Regions from separate parts of the Homo sapiens genome. Here region 1 is linked to region 2. The links are contacts of gene promoters, found by promoter capture Hi-C in human tissues and cell types (Jung and others, 2019). All regions are on one chromosome and are shown on one strand. The core of a region is centred on a gene start or on the middle of the fragment in contact, and the rest is flanking DNA. Distances in the headings are between cores, read along the strand shown. Region 1 overlaps LCMT1 (leucine carboxyl methyltransferase 1). Region 2 holds the start of SLC5A11 (solute carrier family 5 member 11).

The links. Contacts are between HindIII fragments. The study calls those that stand out against the background at their distance.
Region 1: a contact is called between a fragment that was not itself captured here and the fragment with the promoter of SLC5A11 in region 2, in 2 of the 25 tissues and cell types used here (heart right ventricle and spleen).

What each region holds. Positions count from the first base shown.
Region 1 is chr16:25,176,951-25,182,215 of GRCh38, reverse strand. LCMT1 (leucine carboxyl methyltransferase 1) reads right to left here. Exons shown (of 11, transcript NM_016309.3): 11 at 3,988-4,215. The coding sequence ends at 4,193. Among named protein-coding and RNA genes, the nearest start is that of LCMT1-AS2, 31 kb to the right of the region's middle. The HindIII fragment of the contact is 5,979 bases long and covers 1-5,265 here.
Region 2 is chr16:24,843,267-24,848,544 of GRCh38, reverse strand. It overlaps SLC5A11 (solute carrier family 5 member 11), which reads right to left and starts at 2,582. Exons shown (of 17, transcript NM_001352248.3): 1 at 2,533-2,582; 2 at 2,107-2,313. The HindIII fragment of the contact is 12,271 bases long and covers 1,258-5,278 here.

The sequences.
Region 1 (5,265 bases), core at 1,183-3,682, 330 kb before region 2:
TTTTTTTGAGACAGAGTCTCACTCTGTCACACAAACCGGAGTGCAGTGGCACAATCTTGCTTCAGTGCAACTTCCACCTCCCAGGTTCAAGCAATCCTCGTGCCTCAGCCTCCCAAGTAGCTGGGACTACAGGCATGCACCACCACACCCAGCTAATTTTTGTATTTTTTAGTAAAGATGGGGTTTCACCATGTTGGCTCGGCTAGTTTCGAACTCCTGGCCTCAAGCAATCCGCCTGCCTTGGCATGACCCACTGCACCCAGTGGATTTAGCATAATTCTTAAGGGCCCTAGGATTTTCAGAATGGTAAATAAGCACTGACCTTAACTTAATGTCACCAGCTGCATTTCATACTAGACACTAAGAAGTCAGGCTTTCCTATGAAGTTTTGAAGCCAGGCATTGAATTCTCCTCTCTAGCTTTGGAAGTCCTAGATGGCATCCTCTTGCAAGAGAAAGCTGTTTTGCCTACATTGAAAATCTGTTGTTTAGTGTAGCCACCTTCCTTCATCAATGATCTCAGCTGGATCTTCTGGACAACTTGCTTCAGTTTCTCCATCAGCACCTGCTGCTTCACCTTGCACTTTTATGTTATGGAGACGGCTTCTTTCCTTAAACCTCAGGAACCAACCTCTGCTAGCTTCCAACTTTTCTTCTGCAGCTTCCTCTCCTCTCTCAGCCATCACATAATTGAAGAGAGTTAGGGCCCTGCTCTCGATTAGGCTTTGGCTTAAGGGAAGGTTGTGGCTGGTTTGATCTTCTATACAGACCGCTCAAACTTTCTCCATATCGGTAATAATACAGTTTCGCTTTCTTATCATTCATGTGTTCACTGGAGTAGCACTTTTTCATTTCCTCCAAGAACTTTTCCTTTGCATTCACAACTTGGCTGTTTGGCACAAGAGGTCTAGCTTTCGGCCTATTTCAGTTTTTTTTTTTTTTTTTTTTTTTTTCAGATGGAGTCTCACTCTGTCACCCAGGCTGGAGTGCAGTGGTGCCATCTTCGCTCACTGCAACCTCTGCCTCCCAGGTTCAAGCGATTCTCCTGCCTCAAACTCCCAAGTAGCTGGGACTACAGGCGCCTGCCACCACACCAGGCTAATTTTTGTACTTTTAGTAGAGATGAGGTTTCACTATGTTGGCCAGGCTGGTCTCAAACTCCTGACCTCAGGTGATCCGCCCACCTCGGCCTCCCAAAGTGCTGGGATTACAGGCATGAGCCACCACAGCCGACCCTATTTCAGCTTTTGACGTGCCTTCCTCACCAAGCTTAATCATTTCCAGCTTTGATTTAAAGTGAAAGGCATGTGACTCTTTGTGACTCTTCCTTTCACTTGAGCATGTAGAGGCCATTGTAGGGTTATTAACTGGCCTAATTTCAATATCAAATTTGGAATAGGACGGATGGGAGGATCACTTGAACCCGAGTTCAAGACCACCCCTGGCAACATAGGGAGACCCTGTCTCCACAAAAAAAGTTAAAAATAGCCAGGCTTGCTGGTGTGTGCCTGTGGTTCAGTTACTCAGGAGGCTGAGGAAGGAGGATCACTTGAGCCCAAGGAGGTTGAGGCTGCAGAGAGCTATGACTGCACTACTGCACTCCAGCCTGGGAGATGGGGCAAGACCCTTTCTGAAAACAACAACAACAAAAAGTAAACATTGTGGGGCCAGGCACGGCGGCTCACGCCTGTAATCCCAGCACTTTGGGAGGCCGAGGCAGGTGGATCACGAGGTCAGGAGATAGAGACCATCCTGCCTAACGTGGTGAAACTCCATCTCTACTAAAAACACAAAAAAAATTAGCTGGGCATGGTGGCGGGCTCCTGTAGTCCCAGCTACTTGGGAAGCTGGGGCAGGAGAATGGCGTGAATCCGGGAGGTGGAGCTTGCAGTGAGCTGAGATCGCGCCACTGCACTCCAGGCTAGGTGACAGAGCAAGACTCCGTCTCAATAAAAAAAGTAAACATTGTTTCTGCTAATGCTATACATATACCAGAGTTACCCCTTTCCTGTGGTTTTGTTTTCCAAGGTTTCCGTTACCTGAGGTCAGTTGAGGTCCAAAAATAAGTGAGTATAGCTAAGATATTTTCTTTTTTTCCAAGATGGAGTCTTGCTCTGTCATCCAGGCTGGAGTGCAGTGGCGCAATCTCGGTTCACTGCAACCTCTGCCTCCTGGGTTCAAGCAATTCTCCTGCCTTACAGATGCCTGCCACCAAGCCCGGATTTTTTTTTTTTTTTTTTTGTATTTTTAGTAGAGACAGGGTTTCACCATGTTGGCCAGGCTGGTCTTGAACTCCTGACCTTGTGATCTGCCCATCTCAGCCCCCCAAAGAGCTGGAATTACAGGCGGCGGGGCGGTGGGGGGGGGGTTTCACCATGTTGGCCAGGCTGGTCTCGAACTCCTGACTTCAGGATCCACCTGTCTTGGCCTCCCCAAGTGCTGGGATTACAGGCGTGCACCACTGCACTCGGCCAGTTAAGATATCTTCAAAGACCACATTCACATAACCTTAACATATTGCTATAGTTGTTCTTTTTTAAATTGTTGCTAGTCTTACTGCACCTAATTTATACATTTTATCACAGGTATTTATTGATAGGAACACATCCCATCAACTGGCATGCCACTAGAGGTGCAGGGCCCACACTCTAGGGGACACTGATTTAAGGATTCTGAATGGTAGAAGAGAGGCTGTTACCTCTCCAGCAGAGGAGAGCGCTGGGGACTTCTGCAGTGCCACCCTGCACATGCAGGTTCAGGCTCGCAGCGCCAGTCACATAACTTAAGAAGTCCCTGTAGACAAGGTCTACCCATCACTCAGGGAGTTCAGCAGACAGGTATGGGACAAGCCTTATGTTTCTGAAATATGAGGTCATCACTCAGGGGCCCTATGAACCTGTCTCATAACTGCATTGACTTCTAGTTGTGGCTGTAAGTTTAAGCCCCCAACTTGGTGGCTCAAAACACCACAGATCAGTCTGGGCACAGAGGCTCATGCCTGTAATCCCAGCACTTTGGGAGGCCAAGACGGGCGGATCACTTGAGGTCAGGAGTTCGTGACCAGCCTGGCCAACATGGTGAAACTCTATCTCCACTAAAAATACAAAAATTAGACAGGCATGATGGTATGCACCTGTAATCCCAGCTACTTGGGAGGCTGAGGCGGAAGAATCACTTGAACCCGGGAGGCAGAGGGTGCAGTGAGCCGAGATCGCGCCACTGCACTCCAAGCCTGGGCAACAGAGCAAGACTCCATCTAAAAAAAAGAAAAAAAAAAAAAAAAAACCACCACCACAGATGTATTCTCTTACGGCTCTGGAGGTGAGAAATCTGAAATCGATTTCTCTGGGCTAACATCAAGGTGTTGGCAGGCAGTTCCAGCTGGAGGCCAAGGGAGGGTCTGCTGCTATTGCCCTAGGTAGCATCCCCTGGTTGCCCCTGCTTCTTGTCTGGGCCCCTCTGACTCTGACGCCTCGTCTGTCCCTCTAATGAGGACCCCGTGATCCTATCAGGCCCACCTGGATAACCCAGGACCACCTCTTCATCTCAAACCCCTAATCCCATTTGCAAAGCCCCTTTGCCACAGAAGGTAACACACACTCACAGGTTCTGGGGATCAGGACATGGACACTTTAGGGGCCATTCTTCAGCCTGCCACCATGACCAAGATGAAGGAGGCAACTGAGCAGGCCAGTGTGGCCAGGGCGGAGACAGGAGCCCGAGAAGAGCACTAGCCTCACATCTGGTGGAGGACAAGGGTCAGGGAGTGAGGCACAATGTCATGTGCTGCAACAAACAGCATGTGAGGGAGTAGATCCTAAAATGGACTCAAGGTCATGGGCCGGGTGTGACTCACAGGGAGTAAGCCAAGGTCAAAGCAGACTTGGGGTCCTTGGCTTTAGCTAACACAGAGGTGAACCCTGGCCCGCCCAAGCCATGGGGCACGGAACGAGCAGCGGCAGCCAGCAGAGGTCCAACCACAGGCGACTGGTGGCAAGTGAGATTTATTTAAACAACGACATGTCAACAGGAACAGGAAGAGGAACATGTGCGACCACTGTAGTGACCAAGGCTTCTCAAGAGTGTGGGATGAGACCTGCGGACGAGGCCCGCCCACCGCTCAGGGAGCTTGCAGGTCTCCTCCAGGAGGGCAAGTGGCTTCGGCTTCTGGCTCGGCATAAGCCTTCGACAGATTAATAAGTTATCTCCTTCAGCCCTGAGGGGAGAGACACACAGACACCATTAGGAGACTCTGGTGGCCAGGAGCAGAGGCCCCTAGAGGACCCCCAGTGACCGGCTCAGGGGCACCAGCCACACTGCTGACCACTGTAGCACCGCCCTCCTGCTACATAAAATGAGGTTTCGCAAGGAAACAAAAGGTTGGGTAAGACTGTGTTTATGGGTGGTTTTAAAATGATTAAGAAAACATTATAACAGTTTATGGACTGTCTGCAGTTAACGCCAAAAATCTACCCTTTATGTGCTGAACTTTGAGCAAAGGCAGATACGGATCTTCCACACACACAGACAAGCACTGATGTCCCAAAGCAGTCACGGGTCAGTGGGGACAAAGTAAATTCCTGACATTAAAATGCTCAATATATTGTTCCTTTGTGAGAACTAGAGTTCACTTAAAAGTATTACAAATAACCTACATTTCCAAAAATATGGAAATATTAATTCAGCCATAGTGACATAATACAATATTATAAAGCCATTACAATTATGCTCATTGAGCATTTTTAATTGCCAGGGGGAAATGCTAATGTTATAACATTAAATTGAAAACACTTGAAATCAAAGTTGCATAAATATAAAAATTCAACTCTTATTATAAAAACAAACAAAACACTATTTAGAAATAGAGGGGAAGGGAAAAGTCACAAGAGGTCATCTCTGACTGACAGGCATACAGGTGGATTTTCTTAGTCATACTTTTTAGAAGCTTTTAAGTTTCCTACTAAGAAGTATTTTTTAATATAATTAAGAGGAGGATAACATACAAATACCCCAATAAGTGACTTTTTTTTTTTTCTGGAGACAGAGTCGCGCTCTGTTGCCCAGGCTGGAGTACAGTGGTGCCATCTCAGCTCACTGCAACTTCTGCCTCCCGGGTTCAAGAGATTCTCCTGCCTCAGCCTCCCAAGTAGCTGGGACTACAGGCATGTGCCACCACGCCCAGCTAAATTTTGTATTTTTAGTAGAGACGGGATTTCACCATGTTGGCCAGGCTGGTTTCGAACTCCTGACCTCAGGTGATCTGCCT
Region 2 (5,278 bases), core at 1,333-3,832:
CAACCCCATGGGCTCAAATGATCCCTGCACAGTGCTGGGATTACAGGTGTGAGCCACCATGCCTGGCCTCCAGCTAACTTCTTATTTTGTAATTTTTTTGTAGAGACGGGGTCTTGCTATGTTGCCCAGACGGGTCTCAAACTCCAGGCCTCAAGCAATCCTCCCAACTTGGCCTCCCAAAGCACTGAGGTTGCAGGCATGAGCCACCTCACCCAGCCTTGCTTCCTTTTAATCCGCCCCTCACACGGAAGCCAGAGAAATCTTTAAGTATGAGTCAGATCAGATCATTTTCCTGCTCAAAACATCTCCATGCTGCTGGGGTGCTTTGTTGTGCTTCCAACCCCACCACATACTAGCATTCATTTTATTCCTGGAACACGATTTCTGGCCTCAGGGTCTTTGCCATTCTGTTCCCTCTGCCTGGGATGCTCTTCCCTGCACTCTTTGCTGGACAAGCTCCTACTCATCCTTTAGATGTCAGCCTGCTGTATATCCCCAAAGGAGCCCCCTCTTGGCCTCAATATAAATTGGGTCCCCAAGCTTTTTGCTTTCATGGCAAACACAACTTCTCATCACAGTCTAATCAAGTGTAACACTTGATGTGTGTGATTACCCCTTGTCTGCACTGCACAGCAAGCCCCATAAAGAAAGGTCCATGTCTCTGTCACTCTCATTGTGTCCCCAAAACAGGCATGCAATAAATGTTGGTACAACAAATAAATGTGGGATTTTTAGAGCCTTTGCTATAGATCCTTTGCACGCTGTGACCGCCCAAAAAAGGGACAGCATTTTTCCAAGTCCTATCTGCAGGATGCCCAATGGGCTAGGACACTTCTGTCAACTATTGCCCAGAATAATTCAGCAGAACACCATTTGAAAACCACTGATTGGTAGGGTGCAGTGGCTCATGCCTGTAATCCCAGCACTTTGCAAGGCTGAGGCGGGAGAATCGCTTGAGTTCAGGAGATTGAGACCAGCCAAGGCAACACAGGGAGACCCCATTTGTACAAAAAATAAAAATAAAAAAGTTAGCAGGGCATGCTGGTGAGCTATGATAGTACTACATTTCAGCCTGGGCAACACAGAGAGACCCTGTGAAAGAAAAGACAGAAAAGAAACGAGAGAGAGAGAGAACAGAAAACACACACAGAGAGAGAGAGGAGGCAAAGAAGGAAAGAAGGAAGGAGAAAGGGAAAGAAAGGAAGAAATAAATAATAAAAGAGAGAGAAGAAAGAAAGAAAGAAAGAAAAAAGGGAAAAGAAAGAGAAACAGAGAGGTGGGAGGGAGGGAAGGAAGGAAAGAAGGAAGGAGAAAGAAAGGGAAAGAAAGGAATAAGGAAAGAAATAAAAGAAAGAAGGAAAGAAAGAAAGAACAAAGAAAAGAAAGGAAAAGAAAGAAAAAGAAAGAAAGAGAAAAAGAAAGAAAGGAAAGAAAAAGAAAATCACTGATATTGTGGCTGAGCTCATGGCCACAGGAATTGAGTCTTGGCTTGGCCACTCACTATCTGTATTACCTTGAGCAAGTTATTTAATGACCCTTAGACTCTGTCCATGAATTAGGGGGTGCTGTACCTACCTTACAGGGTTTCTGTGTCAGTTAGATGAGATCCAGGCGTAAAGTTCTCTGCACGTGTCTGACACGTACCAGTGAAGACTTGTATTTGCCTTGTAGTTAACAGCAGCTGCAGTTGTAGTAAATACATTCCTATAGCTTTTTAATGCTTATGTGGATACATTTACCTTCGTTATCTCTGGGTAACACACCTGTGGGGTGGGTCAGCCTGAGGTTCATATTCCCATTTGACAGATAAGGAACCTGAGACTCGGTGAGGCAAAATGTTTGGCTCAATGTCCCTGACCTTGGTTAAGTGGAAGAGCTGGGACCCACGTACGGTGCTGCTGGCTGCCGGCTGCTGGCTTCATACCACCATGCCCACCCCACAAACACACTCCATTGTCCTGGTGTATGACAAGCTTTCTCTGCAGAGAGGGCTGAGCTTCCCCTGCCCCACAGGTGACAGCTGGAGTCCTTCTGCCAGCACCTGTCCCCAGACCAACTTCCCAGTTTGGAGAGTGGCTACCTGTTTGGGGGCAGGGGGTGTCTTACCTTATTCCAGATGCAGGGCTCACCTGCCCTGGGGGCTGTCAGTGGCTTCTAAGGCACTAGGAGGTGGCGGTGGTTGTAAGGAGGGAGATACCCGGGATCCTCTCTCTTTGCAGCCAAGAGCTTCCGGAGACAGCAGTGACCCTTCCTCCTATATGCCCGCTGCTGAGAGAGCCTCCAAGCGGGTCAAACTCCAAACTCCAGCCTCAGCTGCAGCGGGGATTAAAGGAAGCGTGAATGATCTCCCCAGGGCAGAAGAGAGAACGGGGCCCAGCCCAGGACCCTTGAACTCTGAGCAGGTGGGGAAGGTGACATGTCCCACGCTCTGCCCACACCGTCCTCCACCAGGGTCCTCACCTGCGTGGGGACCCATGGCATGGAGGGGTTGGGGAGACGCTGGAGCCCAAGGCACCATCCTGCTTCACTCACCCAGTCTTCCACTGTCCCGCCTCCACGCTGGGGACAGGCAGGCTTGGGACGAGCTGGAGGAAGGGGAGGGGAGGAAAAATGCTGGCGGCGGATGGAGGGGACAGAGGCAAAGTGCCAGGAGGGACGTCCAGCCACAGCCCTCACCGCAGTGGCAGCAACAGGAACAGCAACCATTGCTTGTGCAACCCCTTTCCATATACTCTTCAGACAGAGGCATGGCAAAGAACAGGTGTCTGCCTGAAGTCGAGAGTTCGAGACCAGCCTGACCAACATGGAGAAACCCCATCTCTACTAAAAATACAAAGTTAGCCGGGTATGGTGGTGCATGCCTGTGGTCCCAGCTACTCGGGAGGCTGAGGCAGGAGAATCACTTGAATCCGGGAGGCGGAGGTTGTGGTGAGCCGAGATTACACCATTGCACTCCAGCCTGGGCAACAAGAGCGAAAATCAGTCTCAAAAAAAGAAGAAGAAGAAGAAGAAGAGGTGTCTGAGGCCCTGAAAAACCGTCAGGAGTGACCGAGCCATGGCCAGGCGCCCACATCGGGCCCAGGACATCAGCGGGGCATAGCGAAGATTTCTGCCAGATGCTCAAAGCATCCAAAACTTTATTTACTTTTTATTTCTGAGACAGGATCTCACTCTGTCACCCAGGCTGGAGTGCAGTGGTGGCATCACAGCTTGCTGCAGGCTCATCCTCCTGGGCTCAAGTGATCCTCCCACCACAGCCTCCCGAGTAGCTGGGACTACAGGCGTGCACCACCACACCCAGCTAATTTTTTCATTTTTTTGGTAGAGAGAGAATCTTGCTATGTTGCCCAGGCTGGTCTCCAACTCCTGGGTTTAAGTGATCCTCCCACCTTGGCCTCCCAAAGTGCTGGGATTACAGGGGTCAAACACTGTGCCAGGCCAAATACCAAAACATTTTAAAAATAGTTACTAGTATTTGCAAACCAAGAGGCTTGAAACATAATTCTAGAATACTCACTTTTCTAGAACAACCTGAAGATCTGGCCTCACCAGGCCCCCATGGCCACAGGACAGCTGCTGACTGGGGAGGAGTCGTGGCCTCCCCATCTCACTCCTTCACTGGGCCTGCCAGGCTCTGGGGGGCCCTCAGCTGAGGCCCCTGTCCTGGCACCGAGTAGCCAGAAATAATAGCAGTGATGAACACGTGCCAGGCTCTAAGGGCACAACATGCCTTTACTCACTTGGTCTTTCCAACAACCCTCGAAGTTAGGTCCTGTTATCTCTATCTTACTGACGAGGTAACAGAGGTAGAGGAGATGAGTCATCGGCCCAGGATCACCCGGGTTGTAAGTGACACAGCAAGATTTCAGCCCAGGCCACCTGGCTCTAGAGTCCTGCAGGAGCAGTGGAGGGTGGCTTGACTGGATAAAGGGTGGCCTGGGTGAGCAAACACTGGGTGACTGACCAACACCAGTATGAATGGGGCCTTTGGGGGAGGGACCTGCCCTGGGGGACAGATTTACAGAAGGAACAGCTGGGATTGGAGAAGAGGGACAGACAGAAGGCCATGAATCTGTGATCTGCAGCAGAGGCCACAGCACCAGGAAAGGCAGTGGGGTGCCACCGAGGGTGCACTGCTTCGCCAACCTGGGGTCCAGTCCTGACTTCTTGGGAATGTCTGGGGAGCCTTAGCCATGTGCAGGGTGTCTACAGAAGAGGCGTGGTAGTGAGTGAAGCCGGGCAGGTGGAGCTGAGGCTGACCCGAGAGCATGTGTCCCAGCTGAAGAGGACAGCCACGACCCAGCTCCACGTGGGGGAAGACAGGCCCAATGGGGTCAGAACTTCTGATTGTTCTAGAGAAGTTCTGCAAAGTTTCATGATTACGCATCCTTGAGGGCCAGATGTGGCCTGCTCGACCCTTGGCTTGTCACCTCCGATTGTTTCTCTGTCAGGTTTTTCATTTTTACCCTCAGTGCTATAAAGAATAGGAGAGGTGGAGTGCAGGGGCTCATGCTATCATCTCAGAGCTTTGGGAAGCTGAGGCAGGAGGATCTCTTGAGGCCAGGAGTTAGAGGCCAGTCTGGGTAACTCAGTGAGACCCTCATCTCTACACAAAATAGGAAGAATTAGATGGACATAGCAGTGTGCACCTGTAGTCCCAGCTACTCAGGAGACTGAGGTGGGAGAATCGTTTGAGCCCAGGAGTTCAAGGCTGCAGTGAGCCATGATAGTGCCACTACACTCGAGGCAACAGAATGAGATCTCAATTCAAAAAAAAAAAAAAAAAAAAAAAGAACTGTATAACCACTTTAGAGAACTATTTGGACATTTCTTATAAAGTTACCATACACTTTGCCGAGCGCGGTGGCTCATGCCTGTAATCGCAGCACTTTGGGAGGCCAAGGTGGGTGGATCACAAGGTCAGGAGTTCAAGACCAGCCTGCACTCGTCTCTACTAAAAATACAAAAATTAGCTGGGTGTTGTGGTGGGCCCCTGTAATCCCAGCTACTCAGGAGGCTGAGGCAGGAGAATCATTTGAACCTGGGAGGCAGATGGAGGTTGCAGTGAGCCAAGACCGTGCCATTGCACTCCAGCCTGGGTGACAAGGCGAAACTCCATCTAAAAAATAAAATTAAATAAATAAATAAATAAAGTTACCATACACCTCCCCCATGACCCAGCAATTTCACTCTTAGGTATTTATCAAGAGAAATGGAGACATATGTTCCCAAAAAGTTGTGCACACAAGTGTTCATGGTGGCCTTATTCAAAACTGTT